Linked DNA regions of Homo sapiens: region 1 is linked to region 2. Evidence: promoter capture Hi-C in 16 types of primary human blood cells and fetal thymus (Javierre and others, 2016). All regions are on one chromosome and are shown on one strand. The core of a region is centred on a gene start or on the middle of the fragment in contact, and the rest is flanking DNA. Distances in the headings are between cores, read along the strand shown.

Evidence for each region. The method cuts DNA at HindIII sites, captures the fragments that hold promoters and counts their contacts. A CHiCAGO score of 5 or more calls a contact.
Region 1: a contact is called between a fragment that was not itself captured here and the fragment with the promoter of FAM9C in region 2, in 1 of 17 cell types (non-activated CD4 T cells). The highest score is 5.0, in non-activated CD4 T cells.

Annotation. Positions count from the first base shown.
Region 1 is chrX:13,094,682-13,100,330 of GRCh38, reverse strand. It overlaps LOC105373133 (a long non-coding RNA gene), which reads right to left. Exons shown (of 4, transcript NR_171577.1): 4 at 4,536-4,688. Among named protein-coding and RNA genes, the nearest start is that of FAM9C, 53 kb to the right of the region's middle. The HindIII fragment of the contact is 4,149 bases long and covers 780-4,928 here.
Region 2 is chrX:13,042,493-13,048,027 of GRCh38, reverse strand. FAM9C (family with sequence similarity 9 member C) reads left to right here and starts at 3,408. Exons shown (of 8, transcript NM_174901.6): 1 at 3,408-3,488; 2 at 4,171-4,299; 3 at 4,780-4,900; 4 at 5,079-5,110. The coding sequence starts at 4,239. LOC105373133 (a long non-coding RNA gene) reads right to left here and starts at 3,295. Exons shown (of 4, transcript NR_171577.1): 1 at 3,179-3,295. The HindIII fragment of the contact is 8,868 bases long and covers 1-4,670 here.

The DNA.
Region 1 (5,649 bases), core at 1,605-4,104, 53 kb before region 2:
ACCAAAATGTTTGAACAACAATATTTGATTAATTAACATAGAAAATCAGGTCAGTCCCAATTGGTTTCTGTCTGCAAATAAAACTTAAATCATGCTGGTTGTACTTATGCAATGTCAGAATAGTTTGTCCAATTCAGGAAAAACAGATCAACTGGTTTGTTTGGTATTACATAGTCCAAATATCTGGATGCCTGGATTTTATAGAGGTTGGGGCTCAGAGAATGATACCCCAAAGTATCAGCTGTGGCATGCTGAGCACTTTTGAAGTGAAGGAAATTGGAAGTCCTTAAAAGCTGCCTTTAGAACCAAGGACTTTGTAACCTTCCCTTGTTTCTACCCCTAAAGTGCATGAAGGGGCTCTCTCTGGGAGTTCCTTTATCTGTGGGAAGAAAACTTCTTGGAAAAGAGATTCAATTTTCTTAAAACCCCTTATCTATGAATCTCATCAAATAACCAGGAAAGATTGGCCACCAAAGAGGAGAAAAGACTAAAAGTCACCTCCATGCCCAGGCAGACTTCTATTCTTCTGAGGCAAGGTCCAAGAGATTACCTGGAAGATTTTACTTACATAATAAGACAACCTTTGTTCATAGTGAAGTTCTACCCCTCACTTTCTTGAAATTTGTCAGCCACCTCTCCAGAGCTCAGAGAAATTTTGTCCCAGGCTATTGTCTCTTCTATGGGCTTATTCATTTCCCCTGAAAATCATTCATTACACCTCAAAATTGCCTACATTCCTCTATTTCTCTCCCTTCTGTGAAGAATGTGCTATTTAAGCTTCACCCATCTGGCCCTTCTTTTAGTATCATATTTTGTATGGCTCCCATACACACTTACACATTAATAAACTTGTATGCCCTTTCTCCTCTTTATCAGTTTATTTCAGCAGACTCAAACCTTCAGAGGGGAAGGGAAAAATTCCCTTTGCCCTTACATAGAAGTTGGGTGTTTTGTTGCTACTGTCTGTGTTTCCTTTTCTCTAAAACACAATAATGATTCATACTCCAATATCCTTCATGAATTTTTTTGAAAATAAGCAGGACAAGTTCTACTTTTGTCTAGAAAAGTATTACTGTAAGACCAAAGAGCTTCCACACATCCCTGTTGAAAAAGGTCATGATGACTTCCTGTAAGAACAGTGGACCTAAAAATATGAACCAGAATCCATCACAGCACCATAGCTGGCAGCCCAGTAATGTATGACATAAGGAGACAATATTCTTATTCAGGATCAAGGTTAAGAATTGATTTTTTTTTTTTTTAAATAGAGATGAGGTCTTGCTATGTTACCCAGGCTGGTCTTGAACTTTTGGCCTCAAGTGATCCTCCCACCTTGGCCTCCCAAAGTTCTGGGATTATAGGCATGAACCTCCACAGCAGCCTGATTGATATTTTTTAGTGTGCCAAAATTTATTTATTTGTCAACAACCTTTCCCCTCCAGTTTATATTCAAATAAAATATCACACATGAAAGCCACTTTTATTACGACATGCCTATGATAGCAGAGTGATGGATGAGGGAACAGGCTGAATGTTCAGTATAAATGCCCTAAAATCCCTGCATTCTTGGTGATTCTTCTCTTTTTGTCTAATTGTGTGGCAACATCCCCTGCTCTGACTTACACCTCACCATCTTGTTTAGGCCTGGACATAGACTTCGCATCTTTACCACACCAGACATGAAGCATCATGAGTGGCTTTAGATATTCAGGATTTCTCAAAGTCTCATCCCAGAGCCACCTATATCAGGATAATCTGGCTGCTTATTAAATATCGCAACAATCTAGGTCTCACTTCACAGGTACTGAATAAACATTTCTGGAAGTGGAGCTTGGAAATCTGCATACTAATCAAACTTTCCCAATTATTCTATGTACTCTGCAGTTAGAGAAGTGAAGAATCCAATGTTTAGGTCAATATTCTTCTCTCTGGAGACTGACCTTGTCTTAGTCAGCATGAGCTGCTATAACAAAGTACCAGAGACTGGGTGGCTTGAACAGTAAACATTTATTTCTCATGGTTCTGGAGGCTGGGAAGTCCAAGATCAAGGTGCTGGCAAATCCAGTGTCTGGTGGGGGCCCACCTCTTGGTTTGCAGATGTCTATCTTCTCATTGTATCCTCACATAATGGAGAGCAGAGAGCAAGAACAAGCTCTCATGACCTAATTATGTCCTAAAGGCCCCATCTCTTAATACCATCTCATTGGGGGGTTAGGATTTCATCATGTAAATTAGGGGTAAACACAAAACATTCAACCCATAATAGACCTTAAGCCAGAGTGTTATGCATTGGACCAGAAGCCAATGGCACCACCTATCTCCTTACCCTGCTGTCCAAGATGACAGGGGTGAAGGCAAGAAACAACCCCAATTCACTGCAAATGAGAGTGTATAATAGGACACTGGTAAGAGAATAAAAAAGCTAGTCAAGAGTTTGGATAAAATATTTGCAAATCATGTATCTGATTTTAAAAACTCATATCGAGAAATATCTAAAGAACTGTCACATTCCAATAATCAAACAAAACAAACAACTCAATTAAAAAATGATCAAAAGATTTGATTACACACGAGAAACAGATGGCAAATACACTCATGAAGCTCATGAATGTTCAATATCATTAGTCATTAGGGCAATGTTCAATATAATTAGTCATTAGGGCAATGCAAACTAAAAGCACAATGCAATGCCACTGAAAACCCAAGAGAATGTCTACAGTTTTTACTTAACTATTTTTAAATATTTTCTAGATATGGGGTTTCACTCTGTTGCCCATGCTGGAGTACAGTGGAGTGATCCTAGCTCACTGCAACCTCAAACTCCTGGGTTCAAGCGAGCCTCCTGCCTCAGCCTCCCAAGTAACTGGGGCTATGCCTGGCTTATAATAAAAAAAAAAACAAAAAACAAAAAAACAAAAAAAAAAACTGACAATACTGCCAAGGATGCAAAGCAATTGGAAATCTTATCAAATACTAGTGGAAATGCAAAATGATACTGCCACTTTGGAAAACTGTATGGGAGTTTCTTTTAACACAGCATACAACTCAGCATTTCTACTCCTAGGTAATTTACTAATAGAATGGAAATGCTTGTCTACGCAAGTACTTCTAAGAGAAAGTTCATAGCAGCACTGTTCATAATTGCCCCAAACTAGAAACAATCCAAATGCTCTATTAATAGGTAAATGTATAAACAAACTTTGGTATATCCATGTAATGGAATACTGCTCAGATATAAAAAGAAACAAGTACTGATATGCACAACATAAATGAATCTCAGAAGCGTCATGCTGAGTGAAAACAGTGAGAGACAAAAGGCCACATTTTATATGGTTCCATTAATACAACATTCTGGAAAAAACAAAGCTATAGGTACACAAAACAGATCAGTAGTTTCCAGGAACTGGGGATTGGTGGGAGGAGACTGACTTCAAAGAAGCAAAGTGGAACTTTGTGGGGTGATATACTCAATATCTTAGTTGTGGTGGTAGTTACATCTCTACATTTGTTTTACAAAACTCATAGAATTGTATTCATAAAAGGGTTAAATTATACTGTAGGTAAATTTTATATCATTAAATCGGACATTAACAACAACAACAACAACAAAAAGTCTATGATAGAGTCTGTGGGCCCACAAAACATGTGCAGTAATATGTTCACCATTTCCCAAATCAAAACTTACTTGTGCTAGTGGAACTAAAATAAGAAAGAAGTGATTCCATAAAAAATATACAGAGGAGGCCGGGCGTGGTGGCTCATGCCTGTAATCCCAGTACTTTGGGAGGCCAAGGCGGGTAGATCATGAGGTCAGGAGTTCAAGATCAGCCTGGCCAAGATGCTGAAACCCCATCTCTACTAAAAATACAAAAAAAAAAAATAGCCTGGTGTGGTGGTGGACGCCTGTAATCTCAGCTACTCGGGAGGCTGAGGCAGAGAATTGCTTAAACCCAGGAGGTGGAGGATACAGTGAGCCGAGATCACGCCACTGCACTCCAGCCTGGGTGACAGAGTGAAACTCCATCTCAAAAAAAAAAAAAAAAAAAAAAAAAAATATGCGGAGCAGAGAACCAAATCCCCCACCATGATGGAGGCTTCCGAGGTCCATGATGTGGGGTTTCAGTGGCAGATACATTGACTTCCTAATAAGGAAGCCTCTGCCAGTCCATGGTCATTTCTCCCTAAGCAATCCTGTGTGCTCTTTAGAATAAGAAAGAAATTAACTCCAAATCATGACAGATCCAATAAGTTATACATTAAAACAACTCATATGGAAGTTGAGCTGCAGGAAATCAATGTGGAAAATGTAGGGCTAATTCCCATTGCATTACCAGTCCCACTGAGAAAGCTAAATTCTGCTCTGAAAACAGTTTCAGGACAAGTACATTCGATAGTCTCTCAAAAAATGGCAAAGAAAATCAAGTAGAAAGTGTTCTGTTTTTGTTCAGAAAATGACTATCAACACAACAAGAGAGCAGTGGAAAAAATAAATGTTTAAAAACAAACCAAAAAAAAAAATAAGAAAAGAAAGGGAAAGATATTGAATCACCCCATTGTTTTGATTTCCTTGTGCCAACGACAAAACCTGAGTGATTGACATTTCTTATTTGCTGACTTGATCAGACTATTTGATATCACACAGACATGGCAATTTTTCCCGTGGCAATCCCGGGGTGTCATCTCAGATTCTGTAAGAAAGGACCAAGGAATATATAATTGTATCAAGCTGCCATTTAATGAGGCACTAGATGCATCTCACAGACAAAGGTCAAAGTTTGAGATAGCAGAAGGGTTGGGACTTTAGGTAATCTGAAAACAAGCACTGTGTATCATTAGAAAAATTGTATGAAATGCCTATTTGGGTGAAACGAATTTTACTTGTGATGAGTAATGGCTGTTGTAAAATATACCTTGTAGAGAAACAAGCTTGGACATTTCTGTTCTTCCTTTTAGCATACCAGCCTTCAGTGTTGTGACACTATAGGGTCTTAAAATACTTGCCCCTGTTTATTTGCTTTTGCATAGCTGGTCAGGATTTTGTAGAATTCAGTGGCACTCCAGTGGGGAGCAGCTGGGACTCAGGAATTCACTTTGGAAGGGAGCTGGCAGCTGGGAAGACCAGGCAGTTCTCTTTGTGCTCAGGCCTTAGGAGAGTTGTGCATTTGGCAGGGGAATGAGACTTCTTGGATACTCAGAAAGGACACCACAGAAAGATCTGATTTTGCTCGTTCTACATATTCCACATGCTTTTCACTGCCTGCAACTGTCATTTCAATCAAGTTTTCATTACAGGGGAAATTTTCCTCTTAAAATATTTGCTTTCATAGGAATTCTGTCTGTGTCAGCACTGTGGTCAACCCCAGTGTCAGGAAAGTCCACTTTTAAAGATATGGGTTGGTGTGAATGCATATAAAATGATGTGAGAGTGTATTTACGCAGATGTGAGTTTGCTGGATTCTTCGTACCTCGTGACCCTCTAACTTTCTGTACTGCTGATTCAATTAACCATGCCTGTGGCACAGGAAAGAGATACTCTACTCTTTAAAAAATTAATACAATGAATGGAATTGGGAAAATAAGTGAAGAAAGATTGTAACTGTTTCATTTTTTTTTTCTAAAAAAACCCTTTTTTTCTCATATCCAAATCAA
Region 2 (5,535 bases), core at 2,159-4,658:
TCAGTGCTGCCTGCACTTTTCTATCATCTGGGGAGATTTCACCGTCCTGAGGCCCAGGCCAAACTCCAACACAGTTAATCAGAAACTTAGTGGGTAGGATGGAGGCAGCAGTGTGTTTTGAAATTTCCTGAGTGATTCCAGGAGACGCCAGGGTGGGGCCCCTCTGCTCTAAGCTGAGATGTAATTCTCAGGACTGGGTGGTAGACTTTGCCATTTGATGAGAGGGTCTGAGCCTATGTCTCTACATGTATGCACAGCATTAATTCACGTATAGCAAACACAGCATTTGCTGACGGCCCACCATGTGCCAGCCATGGCGCTGAGTGCTGGAGAAGCAAAGTTGACAAAGACCTGCCCTTGAAGGAATTATAATCTAATTGGAGAGAGTCTTGAAAAGCCCACTGAGAAGGGCCCTGATAGAGTTTGCACAGAGAAGATCATAGGTGAGGGTATTTGTGCAGAGTACATCAGATAAGCCTTTCTGAAAGACATGAATGTTTTCATTCATTCTTAAACAGCTGGAGCCTAGAATTTGCTGCTTCATTCGAGTATAAACTTTTGCTAAGAGTCTAAGAATTGGAGAAAAGGCTGAAATGTGAATGAACATGAAGCCCTCAAACGTCTGGAGGATTATCAGCAGAGAAACTTCCATCTCCTGTGCTACCAGCCCTGTCTGATAAATGAGCAATTTGATTGGCTATTAGAGCGTAAATCACTAATTCAGGCTACAGAGTATGGATGTATACAGTCTTTAACCCAGTGATCACATCTTAGATTTCTAGATGTTTTCAAAATGAACAATTGTTGTTGCCATTTGATGAGAGGGTCTGAGCCTATGTCTCTACATGTATGCACAGCATACATGTTGTTTTCCAACATTTTATTATTAGAAATTTCAAATACACAGAAAAGTTGAAAGAATTTCATGGAAAACATTCATGTTCCCATCACCTAGATTCTATCATTGACATCTGGCCATACTGTTGTTGCTTATCACATATCTAGCCATCTGTTTGTCCCTCTGTCTGTCTATGAATCCAAGCAGTGCATTTCTTTCAGTTAGTTCTTAATGACAGCAATAGAAGAGTGAGGGCTGCTTTGAAAATTGGTGTTATTTCTACATTTGTTATGAAGCATTATCCTTACTTGTCAGTCAATTCACATAGGGTGGAGTAGGGTGTTGGGGGTAGGAGGGGGTTACACCTCCAGTTATTAGAAACCAATTCTCTAAATTAAAGTACTTATTCTAATAACTCTTGAGAAATCTCCTTTAAATTTGCTTAAACATTTCCTGTGGTCTTTGTAGATAACCTCTAGTGGGAAAAAAAAAAAATTGAAGTGACCATGTTTGCCCTAAAGGCTTTGGTTAGTTCACAAAACCTGTTTCCGCAACCCAGAGTTGCTTCAAATAGACTTCCTCCCTTTACAAAGGCTTAATGATTTGTGTATTGAGTTGTTTCTTTCTGGGAGACATCTCACAAATACTCCAGTTGGGAAAAAGAGATAAATTGCTCCATCCAAAGTTTAAAAGAATTTCTTCAGGGTTTTGTAACTTGGACACTTGGTGTTCTGAAAAGAATGTCTTTGTGCCTATTTAAAATTGCAGAATCCTTTTCAGTTTGTTTCTAGGCTGTTATGCCAAAGAAGTAGCTCTGTAATCCCCATTTGTCTTCACCTGACATCAAATTCCACTTTGTGATGGAGAATTGTTCCTTGATTTGACATTCTTTTAAAGAAAAATGAGCCAGCATTGAATTCTTAGCTGAATACCAGTAGTTGGTGTATGTGTGTATGTGTTTCCAATTATAGACAGAACCTGGTATAGTACTTTCAGCTGAAATCTTTGATGAAGCATATGAAAATTACATTGATCCAGATGGGATAGAAAGCTGTAAGACTGGTTGCACAAAGCCCTCTGCAAGATTTGTCTTCTTTCTTAATGTTACACATCTTAAGCTCGAAAGAGAGAGAAACCTGAAGCAATCATGGCTTAAAATTCCCCAAGATGTCTCATTGGCTAATTTGGGTACCAAGTAGATTGTGGGGAAATGGGGACAGCTGGTGGTATTTAGTGTCAGTAATTAGGGATTCTCTTTAGGTTATAGAGAACTCTTAGATATAAAGGTGAGCTGCCTTGTCAGGGAAAGATGGCTTCCAACCCAGCTGTGGAAATAATCGGGCTGGGCACGATGGCTCAAGCCTGTAACCCCAGCACTTTAGGAGGCTGAGGCGGGCGGATCGCTTGAGCCCAGGAGTTGCAGACCAGCCTGGGCAACATAGTGAGACCTCATCTCTGCAAAAAATAAACAAAATTGGCCAGGAGCGGTGGTTCATGCCTGTAATCCTAGCACTTTGGGAGGCTGAGGCGGGCAGACTGACTGAGCTCAGGAGTTCGAGACCAGCCTGGGCAACACGGTGAAACCCTGTCTCTACTAAAATACAAAAAAAAAAAAAAAAAAATCAGCCAGGCGTGGCGGCGTGCGCCTATAGTCCCAGCTACTTGGGAGGCTGAGGCAGGAGAATTGCTTGAACCAGGGAGGCAGAGGTTGCAGGAAGCCGAGATCGTGCCACTGCACTCCAGCCTGGGGACAGAGTAAGACTCTGTCTCTAAAAATAAATAAATAAATAAAATAAAATTAGCTGGGCATGGTGGGACATGCCTGTAGTCCCAGCTACTTGGGAGGCTGTGGTGGGAGGATCCCTTGAGCGCGGGCAGTTGAGGCTACAGTGAGTAGTGATTACACCATTGCAGCCCAGCCTGGGTGACAGAGCAAGACCCTGTCAAAAAAAAAAAAAAAAAGAAAAAAGAAAAATGAAAGAAAAGAAATGACCACATCATGAGAAATCTAGACATAAAGTCTTTAACTTTGTATATCCACTGCAGAATCATGCAATGCCCAGTGTGAGGGAATGGAGTAGGATAGGAGAAAACTACCTGCCCCTGCTGGGAGTCAACAATTTTCTTAGATAAAACATAAAAGCACAATCCATTGATAAAAAGGATGCAGCTGGGCGTGTTGGAAGCACACAGGACATGGGAGGGAGCCTGGGCTCCACCCGCAGGGTGATGGCCATTCCACCCAAAGGGGCAGGAGTGGCTGGAACGAGCCTGGGGGCAAGGTCCTAGGCCCCGTTCACTTGGCCTCCATTCCTTAGGGCAGGGTCCCCTGGCACTCACCACTCCCGAGTCCTTGCTTCCTTCACCAGGATGAGGAGCTGGAATATCGTGGGGACAGAGGCCTCAGAGAGCCACCCAATGAGTCCACAGCAGCCATGGACAGTCCGTGAGGGGGAGGGTGTGCCTGCAGGGGGCGTGGCCCCATGCCGCCCGCCACCTGCATGCGCACTGGGCCGACCAATCAGCGAGGAGCGCGGGCAGCCGGGGCGGCTGCTGCTCTCGTGAGAACAGAGGACCCAGGCCCTCGGAGGAGCTTCGCGGTGCCAGCCTCTGCAGGTCCTCTGAGGGAGCAACATCAGGGCTCCCTCAGGTGAGACGCCCTCGGTGGGGATGCGGGGAAGGCGGGCCAGAGGCCCTTTGGGGAAGAGGGTGTGAAGGGCGGGGCAGCCAGGCTGATCTGTGAGGAAATGGCCCAGGCATTGTCGCCTGGGGCCTGGGTCAGGGCAGGGAGTTGGAGCTGCCTGAGTGGTCCCCAGGACCCAGGAGGGTCCCGGAGGCCTGTGCATGTGTGCAGCGTTTGGGGGGGGGTCGGGGGGTCAACGTGGGTCCGTCTTGTCTGGCTGCCCATCAGGACGGGATACTTGGGGTCACCAGGGGTCCCCTGGGCGTCCAGGCTGGCGAATGGGCAGTCCCTGCCCCTGTCAGAAACAGGTGCGTACCGGCTCATTCCCATGGAGATGGCTGGGGAGATCCTGTGTCACCCCGCGGCCCTCCCGACTCCACTGGGTCGCTGGGGAACCCAGGGGCAGGGCCAGGCTCTGTCCCAAGGGCACTGCAAGAATCCCGCAGAGGCCGCGGAATTCTGCGAGCTCTGCAGCCAGCCCCGGGGAAGCGCTGGACGGGCCAGGACAGGAGGGGATGATGGCATCTTCTCCGCGTCCCCTCCTGCTCCCACGGGAGACCCGGGGCGCCCTTGAACCTGCGATCCTGATGATTTTCATTTAACACGCCTCGTTTCCTTAGTGTCCTTAGTGTGTCTTTGCACTCACCAGGTTCAGAGGTCGCCTCTAGCTTCCCAGGCCAGTCAGCCACGGAGCCCGTGGGCAGGAAGGGCAGCAGGATGGCTGCCAAGGACCAGTTGGAGGTTCAAGTTATGGCCGCCCAGGAAATGGAGCTTGCAGGTAAACACAGCCCAAGGGGACCTAGAAGAAGGTGCACGCCCAACAGTCTGTCTGCTTTCTGGGCGGGGCGCACATGGGCAGCCCGAGGCCCCCGGCCCCTTCGTGGCTTTGGAGCTCACCGTGCATGTGCTGAGATGCCCCAGGTTTTCAAAGCAGGCTCAAGGGCCTTAGGCTTCCCGTGGGAGGCTCCCCCTCATAGCAGGGTTACAGATGCTCTCAGAGCAGCTCTTCTCCATGGATGCGGTCCTGACATCCAAGGGATCTGACCTGTGAACGTTGTTTACTGGGACTTGAACCCGAAGGGCTTCCAAAAATGCCTCCGTAAAATGGTTAGGAGCCGGCGATTCCATGTATAGCTCTGCGGTAAAGCTTTAATTGGCGGAGAGCCAAAAAAGTCTACAAATAGTACGTTTCTCTATGAAAAATGTCCACAACAGCGTCTTCCTCTAAAAAAGGTTTGTCTTTTTTATTTTAATGCAGGAAAGGATCCAGTAAGTCATGAGCATGAGGAAAGAAAACCTGTTACAGAGACAAAGGAGGGAGATGTAACTGATGAGCATGGGGAAAGAGGATCTTTTGCTGAAACAGATGAACACACGGGGTAAAGTGTTTAAGTCCCTTTTGCCTGTCAGATAAGGTCTTTTAGGAAAAGTCAGCTTTGGATCATGTCATCACTGTTATGTTCTATGCAGAACATTTCACACAAGACATTTCTTCCCAACAAACAAGGCCTTTTGTGTAGCATTATGTTAAAATTGTGTTGCAACTTTTTGTTACAGGGTTGATACCAAGGAGCTAGAAGATATTGCAGGTATGTTTTACGAGCTATTTGTGGTTTATGAAAATTGTTTTCAACCATACAACCCTTACAGTAGGTTATATGAATTAGTGGATGACAAGACTGTCTTAAATGCCTTCTTCTCATATATAGCATTTAATGTAATCTGTTTAATAATTTTTCTTACTTACTTTTTTAATTGTTGATGTGGAATGTGAGAATGCTTCTAATAATGGTGAAGCAAGAGGGGTGGCTTTTCTTTCATACACGTGGAAATTTAATTGTTTGGGGGATATTAGAGGACATTGGAGGAGAAACAGCTCTATTCGTTCCTTTCAGTGTACACACATTAAGTCATATATCAGGTTTTTTTTTAGCTTTTACTTTATGTTTGGGGGTACATGTGCAGGTTCGTTATATAGATAAATTGCGTGTCACAGGGGTTTGGTATACAGATT